Linked DNA regions of Homo sapiens: regions 1, 3 and 4 are each linked to region 2. The links are contacts of gene promoters, found by promoter capture Hi-C in human tissues and cell types (Jung and others, 2019). All regions are on one chromosome and are shown on one strand. The core of a region is centred on a gene start or on the middle of the fragment in contact, and the rest is flanking DNA. Distances in the headings are between cores, read along the strand shown. Region 1 has its middle 160 kb from the start of CTBP2. Region 2 holds the start of CTBP2 (C-terminal binding protein 2). Region 3 holds the start of ZRANB1 (zinc finger RANBP2-type containing 1). Region 4 has its middle 180 kb from the start of CTBP2.

Evidence for each region. Contacts are between HindIII fragments. The study calls those that stand out against the background at their distance.
Region 1: a fragment that was not itself captured here is called in contact with the fragment with the promoter of CTBP2 in region 2 in 1 of the 25 tissues and cell types used here (spleen).
Region 3: a contact is called between the fragment with the promoter of ZRANB1 here and the fragment with the promoter of CTBP2 in region 2, in 1 of the 25 tissues and cell types used here (adrenal gland).
Region 4: a contact is called between a fragment that was not itself captured here and the fragment with the promoter of CTBP2 in region 2, in 1 of the 25 tissues and cell types used here (stomach).

Annotation. Positions count from the first base shown.
Region 1 is chr10:125,315,959-125,319,407 of GRCh38, reverse strand. No RefSeq gene overlaps it. Among named protein-coding and RNA genes, the nearest start is that of CTBP2, 160 kb to the right of the region's middle. The HindIII fragment of the contact is 4,069 bases long and covers 137-3,449 here.
Region 2 is chr10:125,159,285-125,162,513 of GRCh38, reverse strand. CTBP2 (C-terminal binding protein 2) reads left to right here and starts at 1,951. Exons shown (of 11, transcript NM_001329.4): 1 at 1,951-2,195. RefSeq lists an enhancer at 571-1,180. The HindIII fragment of the contact is 19,174 bases long and covers 1-3,229 here.
Region 3 is chr10:124,940,812-124,943,883 of GRCh38, reverse strand. It overlaps ZRANB1 (zinc finger RANBP2-type containing 1), which reads right to left and starts at 1,761. Exons shown (of 9, transcript NM_017580.3): 1 at 577-1,761. The coding sequence starts at 1,390. The HindIII fragment of the contact is 6,128 bases long and covers 1-3,072 here.
Region 4 is chr10:125,341,129-125,344,462 of GRCh38, reverse strand. No RefSeq gene overlaps it. Among named protein-coding and RNA genes, the nearest start is that of CTBP2, 180 kb to the right of the region's middle. The HindIII fragment of the contact is 7,936 bases long and covers 1-3,334 here.

The sequences.
Region 1 (3,449 bases), core at 922-3,421, 160 kb before region 2:
CAAAATAAGCTATCTAACTGGCCTAAAAATATGTGGAAAATTTCTAAACTCCTTGGGCATTAGGGGAATGCAAATTAAAACCACCATGAAATACTAATACATAGCCACCAGAATGACTCAAATTAAAAAGACTGATACTACCAAGTGCTAGTGAAGATATGGAGCAACCGAATCTCTCATACATTGTTGGTGGGAATTTGACAGTATCTACTCTGTCTGAATATATGCACATTCTATAGCTCAACAATCTACTACTTAATGGAAATGTGTACAATATGTTCCTTAAAATATGTACAAGAATGTTTATAGCCATGCTACTTTTAAAAGCCAAAACCTGAAAACAACTTTGGTAGTAGAACTATTAAATAAATACATATACTTTTGGCCTGATCAACCAATGGACAGCAGATGAACAAATGATTGCTACACACAACAACATGGGTGAAATTCACAAACATAATGTTGAGTGAAAGAAACCACTCTATGGATATGTTCACTTTGTGAAAATTTATTGAGTTTTATAATTATAATTTATGTCCTTTTTAGTATTTGTGCAGAAAGCTTACTTTAAATAAAAACATATATTAAACTCATAACAAAATGATCCATTTGATAAAATAATAGCCAAAAAACAAAAACTTTCAGAAATTAAAAATATTATGGGCTAGGTGTGGTGGCTTACACCTGTAATCCCAGCACTTTGGGAGGCTGAGGCCCAGCCTGGGCAACATTGGAAAACCCCATCTCTACAAAAAATACAAAAATTAGCCAGGCGTAGTGGTTCACACCTGTAGTCACAGCTACTAGGGAGACTGGGGTGGGAGGATCACTTGAGCCCAGAAGGTCAAGTCTACAGTGCAACATGAGCATGCCACTGCACTCCAGCCTGGGCATCAGAGTGAGACCCTGTCTCAAAAAAAGTTATTATGCAAAAAAAATTCAGTGGACCACCGGAATAATACAATGAGCATGGCTAAACCTCAGACTGATAGGCTGGAATAGGGATCAGCAAACTTTTTCTGTAAAGGACCAGATAGTTAATACTTTAGGCATTGTGGGTCATACAGTCTCTGGACAGCTACTCAACTTTGCCTTTGGAGCGAACATAGACAATATGTAAATAAATGGGCATGGCTTGTGTTTCAACAAAACTTTATAGATTAATTATGAAATTTGAATTTCATGTAATTTTCACCTGCCATGAAGCATTATTATTTCTTTTATTTTTTTCAACTTTTCTTTTAAGTTTATAAAGAAAATAGGTTTAATTGACTCACAGTTCTGCAGGCTGTACAGGAGGCATGGCTGGAGAGGCCTCAGGAAACTTACAATCGTGGCAGAAGGCAAAGGGGAAGCAAGCACTTCTTCATGTGGCCAGCAGAGAAACATGGATGGCAGGAGAGAGTCAACCATTTAAAATCCATTATTAACTCAAGGGTCATACAAAAATAGGCAGTGGGCCAGATGTGCCCCATTGGCTGTAGTTTACAGACCCTTGGTCTACAAGATCTAGCCAAGGAAAACTTACACAATTTATGGCTGAGACAAACAGAAAATCAGAAAAAAAGAAATAAGTATGATAGACCCAAAAGGTAAAATATTCATTTAGTTAGCATTCCAGAAGCAGAGGAAAGAGAGTAAATAAAAGTGAAAGCAGTGCCCAGGGGACAAGTGAAAGAAGGTCCACACCTAGATATTTTTGGTGACATTTCAGAACTCTAGAGATAAAGAGGAAATTCCACACTGTTCCAGAGAGAAAAAAGCATTTTACCTGGTTAACCTTGAGAGTCAGACTGAACTCAGACACAGTAAATCGTGGAAGATGGTGGGAAAAGGTCTTAAAGTTCTTAGAAATTGTTTTGGAGCCGAGAAGTCCATGCATAGCCAAACTGTCAGTGAAATGTGAGGGCGAATAAAGATACCTTTGGAAATGTAAGGAATCAACAGTATCTCTGGTGTAACACGAAGATCTTGAGACAGCTTAATTCTTGATTCCCTGGGAATCAGTATGGGCATGTTTCTTTTTTTTTTTTTTATGGTTTCCTTTTTATTTTTTTATTATACTTTAAGTTCTAGGGTACATGTGCACAACGTGCAGGTTTGTTACATATGTATACATGTGCCATGTTGGTGTGCTGCACCCATTAACTCATCATTTACATTAGGTATATCTCCTAATGCTATCCCTCCCACCTCCCCCCACCCCACAACAGGCCCCGGTGTGTGATGTTCCCCTTCCTGTGTCCATGTGTTCTCATTATTCAATTCAGTATGGGCATGTTTCTTAAGTGCACTGCTGTGATGGAGACGTTTAGAATTGCAGACACGGTTCGCTGCTTGCACTACAACTATGACTTCCCACTCACTTTGCTAACAAACCCCAATTTTCTTGAAAATAAGATGGCAATGTACTTCAGGCAGACAGTTCAGAAGGTTAACTATTAATTAGTCTAAACTATTCATCCATTCTCCTTGCTATTGGATCAGTCGGGGGTAGGCATGTGATGAAATTCTGCCTCTGAGATATTAGGGGAAACTTCTGGAAAGCTCCTGAGCAAGATTTTCCTTGCAGATAAAAAGAAACACACAGGAGAAAAGGGCTCTTCCTCTCCTGCTCACGCTGCTGTGTCTGCCCAAGAAGCAGGGAGCTGGGACACCTATCTGTACCATCAGGTGACAAGCCTGCGAACAATAGGCAACATGAGGCTATGACACAGTGGAAAAATAGAAAGCACCTGGGTCTTTGATAATATCTGAGCTGCTTAATTAATCCACCCTTGAACCAGTCTACCTCCAGAATTCCTGGTACATGAGATAATAACATTTCCTTTGTTTAAGTCACTTTTAGTTGGATTTTCTGTTATTTCCAACCAAAAGCATTCAATTGATAGAAGTGATGAAGTAAGACTGGACAGCATTTATCCACCCACATATTTGTAAAACTATGCCTGTCTGACCAGACGTGGTGGCTCATGCCTGTAATCCCAGCACTTTGGGAGGCTGCTGCAGGAGGATTGCTTGAGGCCAGGAGTTCAAGACCAGCCTGGGAAACATAGCAAGACCTTATCTCTAGAATAAATAAATAACAATAAAAATTTTAAAACTATGCCTCTCAGACCTAAACTAGGCCCATAGAAGGGCAACAAAATGATGAAGGGATGCTGGGGCTACTGAGGAGGACAGGCTGCTAGTTTGGGGCCTCTCTGGTCTAGAAAGAAAAAAAATCTGAGAGTAAAATGGTCAAAATCCATTAAGGCAAAGTATCATTGGTAAGATCAGGATGGACTTGAATGTCAGATGCTGAAAAGTTGGAGCAGCAAAAGCCTCACTGCAAAACCCAAGCCCTGCATGAGGGTAGGACATGAATATTGGTTGCCTGAGCTCTAGAGAAACAGTAGCTAAATTACAAAGACCTCTCAGGACTTACAACCACTTCCATCCAGACAGGA
Region 2 (3,229 bases), core at 702-3,201:
CCTCCACTGCAGGCCGCTCAGGCCGCAACGCACCTGGTGCGCTTTGGCAAACAAGCCCCGCGGCGGGCTGGGGCAGGATTTAAGAAATGTTTAATGAAGACTGGGAGGCCTGGAGCAACGCTCTTTGGGATGCAGAAAAGGGTCGTGCAGCTCGGTGGCCTCTCCTCCGGCCCCCTGGCCCTGGCTGTAAGTTTCCTCGGCTCTGCAGGGCGCGGGGCACTCAGGGATGGAGGAGACCACACCGCGCGGCTGGGTTCGCGGAATGGCGGTCCCTGCGGCCTCCAAAGGCGGGACCTCAGACCCCTCCCACTCCTTTCCTGCTCGACATCTCAATCCAGCTCCTAATATCTCAATAGGGTTTTTAAACAAATCGATCCTAAGGGCTCAGTTCAGCCCACCCAGGGATTCTTGGAGGACGCACGCCGAACTCAGGGTAGTGAGAAGAGTTTGGGGGGCCCTGGGGCGCAGGGAGAAGACCCCACACTCCACGGCCACCAGCTCCCTTCCGGAGACGGCGCTCGGACGTCGCGGGTCACGGGCGGGGAATTTAGCCCAGGTGCTCGTTGGGCCGCGAGCGGCCGCTGGGCCTGGATTCCCAGGCTCGCTGTGCAGACTCCAACCTTGAGACGTCAGGACGGCGTGGGCTCCGGGCCGCCGCGCAAGCCCAGGACCCCGAGTCGCGGGCCCCCACGCCGCAGCGCGCCTCCCTCCTCGAGACCCGGGGCTCCGACCCAACACAGGGCTTCTCAAATGCCCCGGCGAGATCCAGGCAGCAAGAGGGAACCTTTTTTTTTTTTTTCAATGTGTAAGAATGTTTTGCTTCTTTTAGGGCACAGCACTGCTGCAACTTGCAGCACAGAGGGCCCTTCCCTGCGCACCCACAGCGGTCGCCGCCTCTCCGGCACGGTCTCCCGGATCTGGATTTGGGGAGCGCAAGTGCCCCCTGTGGCCGGCCCGCGCCTGACCCCGCGGGCCTGAGAAGGCAGAAGCGGCCGGTGCGGGGCACCAGGAGGAAGTTGGAGCCCGGGGGCCGGGAAGGGGGCTGGTTGGCGCCGCTGGCTGGGCGGGGCCCCATGGGACCGGGGCCACCCGGGGCTCGCGTTCCCCCACGTGGCCGGCTGCCCGGTACCCCACGTGGAAGGGGCGGAGGAGGATGAAGGGCCAGGGGAGCAGCGGACCCCGAGCCACCGCGACAGGACCTCGGCCCCTGCCACCGAGGCCCCCGCGCCTCCCGAGGGCCTCCCGGGCGGGGCCGGGCTAGGGAGTGCCCGCCGCGCCCGGCCCCTGGCCCTCCCGCCCGCCGCGCTTGTGTGCACTTTCGCGGAGCCACTAATCCCCCGAGAGAGCCGATTTGTAGTGAGGAGTATCTGAAGGGGGCGAGGCCGGCCCATGTGGGGTTGTGTCATTGGTTTGCAAAAAGAGACCCCGCCTTTGCCCCCCCCCCCCAAAAACAGGAGCGAGGAGTGAGCGAGCGGCGACCCTCACCTCGCCTCCCGCCTAGCTCCTGCGCAGCCAGCGGGTACCGGGAGCTGCGGCCAGCGCCGCTTCTTTCCTTTCCTTTTCTCTCCGTTTTCCTTCTCCTTCCCCGGAGGAGAAAACAAATAAAGAAGAGCAAATAGCCGGGAGGCGCTCGGCATCCAGGACGTTCCCTCCCCCGATCCAAGTTGGAATTAGCATCCTCTCGGGGGTGAGCGCGGCGCGGGGCGGGCCCGGGCCGGGGACCCCCAGCGCAGCCCCCTCTCGGCGGGCGGGAGGGCGCGGGGCCGGGACGCGGGGGGAATTGGGAACCGGGTGGGCGGAGGAAGGGGGTGGGGTGGGTGGGGAAGTAGGAAGAGGCTCGGCGGCGAGGGGAGGAGGTGGAAGGGAAGGGAGGGGTAGGGTGGGGAGGGGAGGGGAGCGGAGGGAGGGTGGGGAGGGCGGGAGGGGGAGGGGCGGGGAGCTGGAGAGATTAAGTTTTTGTGTGTGTGTCCCTGTGTGCGTGTGTCATTTTAAGGTGGCTCGGGAGCGGCCCGGAGGAGCCGGCGGCGGCCCGAGGAGCGAGGGACCGAACCGGGAGCCATGCCGCGCTGAGGGGGGGCCGCACAGCCGCCGCCACCGCCACCGCCGCCGGGTGGGGTGGGAGGGGCGGGAGACGCCGCCGCCGCCGCCTCCAGGGTGGGCGCCTTTCGCCGTGGACGCCGACCGTCCGGGACGAGGTAAGGGGGGCCCCGGGGGAGGGCTGGGGCCGCCGCCGCCCCCGCCTCACCTGCGGCCGCGGGCTGGGGGCGCCGCGCCCGCGCCTCACTGCGCCACTCAGGGAGGAGGAGGAGGAGGAGGAAGAGGGCGAAGGACGCGGAGCCGGCATCCGAGGACATCTTTGGTCCGTGCCCCCGGCCTCGTGTCCCCCCTCGGCGCCCGGGGGTGGACGCTGGCTCGGGGGTCCCCGCCCGCCCCCGCCACCGATTGCGCCCGCTGGCCGCCGTTTGCGCCAGGATTTTTGTTGTTGTGATGAGAGTTGATGAATGCGAAGTAGGCGGTCACCTTCCTTCCCATCAGGGTTGAAAAAAAAAAAAAAAGAAACCCCGAGCGCGGCGGCGTCCGGAGGGCAGCGGCGGCGGCGGCGGCGGCGTCTCGGCGACGGTTCCCTGGGCGCCCCCGGCTCCTGCTCCCTGAGCCCGGTGGGTGCGCGCCCGGGGGCCGCCGGCGACCCAGGCCGAGCGCGCGACGCGCCGCGGGGACAATACGGCCGGATCTCCGGGGAACAGGAGTCCGAGCGCGCCGGGGTGCGGCGGGCCTTGCGCCTACGAGGCGAGGGTGGGGGGGGCGCGGAGAAGAGGGGTTCCGTGGGGAAGTCGGGGCGTGAGCGGCTCTCGGTCCCCAGGGGCGCTGCCCCTGCCGGCGGGGGATCCCGCGCGGCTCCCCGGGAGCGCAAGTGAAAGACGGGAAAGGAGGCGAAGTGGAACCCTTTTGTTTTGCCGGCCCCGCATTGTTGGCTCCTCCGGGCAGCCGGGCCACATCTGCTGCCGCTGCCGCCGCCGCCACTGCCGCGCGGGGCTCGGCCCGCCAAAGTCGCGGCGGGGCGGGGGGCCTGGGCGGGCCGGGCGGCGGGCGCGGGCGGGGGCCGGGCGGGCCGGGCATTTCCTCTGCCCGGCCGCGCTCCCGCGGGCACCACTTCCTCCTCGCCCGCCGCCGCCGGGAGCCCGGCCCGCCCGCCTCCCCCACCTTCCCCGCCCGGGCCGCACTTTTCGGG
Region 3 (3,072 bases), core at 512-3,011, 220 kb after region 2:
TCTGACTAAAGCTTCTATCATCACAAGATGCTCACACTGTTTACAAATACTTGGAAACAGCAGCTGGTGTTCCTCAGTTACATCTTGTTACAATAAACAGAGTAGCAGTTTTAAAGTCCAGGTATATATTTTACTGCTGATGTGTAAAAACTTTGCTTTAACTTAAACGTTTCCACTGCCCCCAGTAATGGAGAGACATGAACACAATTAATTGTGGGCAATTTAGTACAAAGTTACGACAAGATCACAAATACACAAATTTTTATGTATGCATACTTGAAAGTACAGCTATCGTGCTGAATGAATCAAATGCTAGTGACTTTGCGCATATATATATACACACACACACACACACTCACATTTTTGCATGTGCGTGGAGACACAGTCTCACTATGTTACCCAAGCTGGAGTGCAAGTGCTATTCACAGACCGATCATGGCATACTACAGCCTCAAACTCCTGGTTTCAAGCAAGTGGCTAAGACCACAAACGTGTGTCAGCGCACCCAGCTCTTTTCATATCATTTTTACTACCTTTTCCCATCCCACGCAAAAAATGCAGAATACAGAAACTTACCCACACAAGCATTGAGGAAGAGCCAATCAGTCTTTTTCATCCTGTTTTTAATTTGCTTTAGTTTTTTAAAGTCTACTTCAAGTTCCTCCTTGCTTCCCACAGCACCAGCCAATTCAATCCTCTGAAAATCCATTTTCACTTCAGAGTCCCGCTTCGTAGCAGGAGGTGATCTCCTTTGGCTATTACCACTACTGCAACTTCCCCTCCATCGAGCTCTGTCTTGCTCATTTATTATTGAAGAAGCCTCTTCAGTCTCTGCCAATTCTATTGCTTCAATGTTATTAGGTCTGGGATGATCACAAACAACACATCTTTTAGCCTTGGCCCAGTTTTCATATGTGCAAACAGAGCAAGTCCAGTGCTGTGTCCTAGTGTTCAGTTTATTTCTATCATTGTATTCCTCACAAGGATCAACAGAAAAAGCAACTGGTCTTGAGCCAGATCCTGAGGACTGAGGAGATTCTGTAGGACTCCTGGTCCTACGTTGGGATAAGCACTGGGTACATCTGATTGCTCTTGGCCAGTTCAAATATGTACACATGTGGCATGACCACTTATTTGCATTTTCCATGCTATACGAAGATTTCACCCTTGGTCTTGCACTAGAGTCTGGACATATCAAAGGACTACTTCCTCCTTCGGTGCTGGAAGGATCCCAATCTCTACCAACATCACTTGAACCACTTTTAAATGGATCTTCTGTAATAATTGTTCCACTAGGTCTTTGGGCACGACACATAGTACACTTGATTGCAGATGGCCAGTTTTCATACGTACAATATTCACAAGCCCACTTAATTCCACGTTCTGACATTGTGCACTTCTTGAAGTGAGCTGTGTCAGGCAGGAAGCTATAAATAATTAGGACATGGTTATTAAAATAACTACATTCCACCTCCAAAAATACGCTGCCCAAAAAGCAAGTCCTTCAACCTACAAAATATAAATTTCTCAAAAGATGCATGCAACATTTCGACATTGAATTATCCTAATTTTCTTTTTTAATTTCCATAGAAACACTGGAGATAAATTCTCAAAGAAAAAATCTTAGACCCTGGGATTTAATAAAACTGAACTTTGGAATGCAAAAGAGATAGGCAGGAGATATAACGAGGTTTGATCTAAGAAGGATGAGATTAACGGGAAGCCACTAATAGAAATGTTTAATTTCAGGGAGGCCATCACATCAATTTAGAAAAGTAACCAATAGTTTAAAGAGACAAAGGTAGAGGAAACAACACAAACTAAAAAATAGCTTAAACACATAACCATTCTCAAATTATGAACACAGATTATGATTCATGAATTCAGAAGATCAAGCAACGTCTATTTTATCATTCTCGCTAAGGGAGAAAAGCAACTTAAAATGCTAATTATCCACTGTTCTTAATTAGCACAGGTAGTAAAGAAACATGTTGAGAAGTAATGGCTACAATTAACAAAGTAACATTATGAAATAGGTAGTTCCTTGATAATCTGTAGCCTCAAAATCTAGTTCTATCTGGAGTAAAAAAAAGAAGACTGTACTGGGGAAAATTAAATCTGTGGAAGGTCACTGAAATAACCAGTAGCATAATCATTCCAATATAATTGTGAATGTTCATAATTAAAATATTTTAAATTTTGAATATTTAAAATATACTCAAAATCTAATTCATGGCCGGGGGCAGTAGCTCAAGCCTATAATCCCAGCATTTTGGGAGGCTGAGGCGGGTAGATCACAAGGTCAGGAGTTCAAGACCAGCCTGGCCAAGATGGTAAAGCCCCGTCTCTATAAAAATACAAAAATTAGCCGTGCATGGTGGTAGGTGCCTGTAATCCCAGCTACTCAGGAGGCTGAGGCAGAGAACTGCTTGAACCCGGCAGGCAGAGGTTGCAGTGAGCTAAGATCGCACCACTGCACTCTAGCCTGGGTGACAGAGTGAGACTCCATCCCCTGCCCCCCAAAAAATCCAATTCATATTTAAAAGATATTCACACTACTTAAAAGATTTCTAGGATTCAACAATGGGCTAACACTACACTATAATGAAGAAAGACTTCATAATTTAATGGCAACTAATTCATAAATGAAGCAACTTACATAACAAATTTAATTTTTTTTTTTTTAATGGCTTGAATTTAGACACTGGCCACTTTTCCTAAATACTTTTATCAACTCAGTATCATCCCAACACCTATTTTTCACCCGGAAAGAGAAAGAAATCCTAGGCAGAGTATAGAAGCTTTGCTCTCTCTTTCTCAGGGATTTTTCCTGAACCTAGAGGGTTAAATCTTTTGTTTGTTTGTTTTTTTGTTGTTGTTGTTTTCATTTTTGTTTTTTTGAGATGGAGTCTTGCTATGTTTTGCCCAGGCTGGAATGCAGTGGAGTGGTGCAATCTAAGCTCACTGCAACCTCCACCTCCCAGGTTCAAGCGATTCTCCTGCCTCAGCCTCCCAAGTAGCCGAGATTACAGGTGCATGCCACCATGCCCGGCTAATTTTTGTATTTTTAGT
Region 4 (3,334 bases), core at 756-3,255, 180 kb before region 2:
AATACTGAGTGAATATGTATTTGCCGATGTCCCTGAAATGATTTGAACATGAAAAGCCTCAAGAAATCAGATTTGCTGTTTTCCACAAGTAATAGAGAAAATGTGATATCTGGAGCCTCGATTACACCAGAGAATTGTGTTTCTTTTCTTCTTCTTCTTTTTTTTTTTAAATCTGTTTACTGATGAGGAGGAAAAAAGAGCAATAATGGGAAAAAAAATCTGCTTTCTGCCTAACACATGATTCAGCTGACAGCACAAAGAATCAGATAATTCTACAGGAAATTGACAAGCTAGATAGTGATTGGGATGTAGCTGTAGTGTTCTTCTCTAAGTACCCGCGATATTACTGTCTGATGCTTAACATTCACAAACCATTAGACCCAACATGTATATTTATGGTTTGATAATCAGCTGTCATTAACAGATGAATAAACAACATAATGTTCATGTTTAGAAGGAATGTACAAATGGAAGAAATACTGCCAACAACCCAAGAACATTTACCTTGATTCCCTCCACGAAAAATAAAGAGGAACAAATCTCTGTAATTTTAATAGTTAAATCATATCTGCTATTCTGTCTTATCTTGGCTGCCAGAGCTTCAGACAGATTTCTCTTTTTCACATAAAATTTACCATGTCAACCCGGCTTATCTGTTAGGAGAAGTTGCATTAAATTTACTAGATTAGAGATCATCATTCTGTGGCCCTGTCTCCATAGTCAGCCCACAATAGAGTTGATGTAAACAAACACGTTCAGCAATGTCTTTCAGGCTGATAAAATTATTCAGTACTTTTAGTTGTTCTACTTATTAGCTTAGGCAAGTCACTTAACCTCTTTGTAGCTCGAAGTTTTTCACTGCGATACAAAAATAATGCTATCTACTCTAACTACCTCATTGGTTATAATAATGGACCCAGAAGAAGTGTGTCAAGTAAAACTCTAAACATGAGAGTATTTTGTGGAAGACAATGTGACTATAGCATCTTAATTCCAGTGCGATGGGAAATTTACGTACAAATACATCTGCTTTGGGTTTAGTGGCTGGGGGGTCTCCTATGCTACAGGCCTTTTAAAACTCAACAATACTGGCATCCACATTCATAGCAGCATTACCCACGATAGCCAGAAGGTGGAAGCACCTCAAGCTTCCCTCCACGGATAAGTGGATGAACAAAATGTGGTTTATTCACACAATGGAATATTATTCAGCCTTTAAAAGGAAGGACGTTCTGACCCATGCTGTGACATATATGAACCTTAGGACCATATGCTCTCCAAAAAGCCAGCCACAAAAAGGCAAATTCCGTATGGTTTCACTTACATGAGGTACTTCAAGTTGTAAATTCCTACAGATAGAAAGTAGAATGATGGTTGCCAGGGGCTGAGGGGAGCAGCGAGCAGGGAGTTGTTATTTAATAGGCATAGAGCTGAAGTTTTGTAAAATAAAAAGAGCTCTGGAGATTGGTTGCACACAGTGGGAATGCACTTAATGCTACTAAACTATACGCTTAAAATGATTAACGTGATAAAGTTTATGGTGTATTTTACAATAAAAAATTAAGGTTTGCTGGATGTGGTGGCTCACAACTGTAATCCCAACACTTTGGGAGGCCAGGGCAGGAGGATCACCTCAACCCAGGAGTTTGAGACTGGCCTGGGCAAGGTGGTGAGACTCCCATCTCCACAAAAAAACTTTTTAAAATTAGCCAACTGGAGGCATGGACCTGTAGTTCCGGCTACTCAGGAGGCTGAAGTGGGAGGAGCTCTTGAGCCAAAGAGACTGAAGCTGCAATGAGCCATGATCACGCCACTGCACTCCTGCCTGGGTGACAGAGCACAACCTTATCTCAAAAAAAATTTTTTTTTAATTAAAAAAGAGTAATGAATCAATTTAAAAGAAAACCTCGACATTATCCCCCCAGGTCAAGATTGCAGACTGCTTCCTAGCATTTGTCTCCTTTCTCCTGAGACTCCATTAAAATAAGAGTAAAGGAAAAGGAATTTTTTAAATGTAGGAGCCCACACCAAAGAAAATAAAACAAAGGAAACCATCAGAGAATACATGATTTGAACCAATTTCCAGATGATGTAAAGGTGATCGGGGAGTCCTGGCTGCTGAAACAGAGCAAAGACAGGTGGATCCTAGACAGGAGTTGTGCACAGAAGAGGTCAGTCTGCCCAGAAGTGTCCCCAGAGTCTGCAGACTTGAAAACTGCAGATCTCCAGTGGGCAGCAGTGAGAAGTTGGGCATTTGTTAAAAGCCTCTATTCTGAATGGTCCAGCCCATACACACTCACACATCCCATTCTCTGCAGGCCCATCTGTGGTCAGCCAGACATCATTACCTAGGAGGAAAACCTAGAGTTCTTCTCTGAACAAATCTATGTAAAACTCTAGGGTGAACCAAGGCAGCTAGTGAGAGCGCTCTTGGCCCAGAACAGAGGCCTCCTCACTTGGTGCATGGGACCAACCCATCCTGGAAGTTGGCCCTCGGTCCCCTGCACCCCAGTGAATGCTGAGCCTTCAGGTCAACAAGCCCTAAATGTGCCTCAGGCCCCAAGTAGGCATTTGCATTTTCTTATCTTTAAATATACCAGACGTGAGAGGAGAATCCGGACTACGAAAGAGAAAGATAAATAAACAACAACATCAGCAAAAATGACTCTGCAAGAAACAGAGACAACTGAAGAAATAGACAAGGAGTTTTTTAAAACACCCTCTAATATCCTCCAAGAGATTTGAGATTATAGTGTTTCTTTAGAATAAGAAAAAGATATAATTTTTAAAAAAGAACAAGAATTACAGATACGTAACCAAAATAGAGCTGAAATAATATAATAAATGAAATAAAAATGGAATAAAAAGACAAGGGATAGAAGATGATGCCAAGAAAATCTTGTGAAATAAAGAGAAAAAAGGGCAGAGAAATAGGATGTTCAAGAGAAAAGTTAATAAATAGAAAAGGTTGATCCAGGAGATCCAATATTCATTTTAAAATGTTCTAGAAAGAGAGACTAGAAAAAGCAGAAAGGATGAAGACCAAAGAAATAATGAGGGAAAAAATTCCTAGAGCAAAAAGGAGAAGCGAGACTTCAAATTAAAAGCATGATAGTGAAAAAGACCACAGCTAGACATACCAAGTGGATATTCTCCATAGACTAACCCAAAAGAATTTCCCTTTTTTCCTGCTAGCAGTTCTCCACATTTGCAGCTTAGGTAGCAGGCAGAGATCCTATGACATCAGGAATGGCACGCCCCTCTCAGCCCCAGGGAATCAACTATAACTGATCTTAACCAATCCTAATAAATTCCATTCTCTTCTACCAATGAG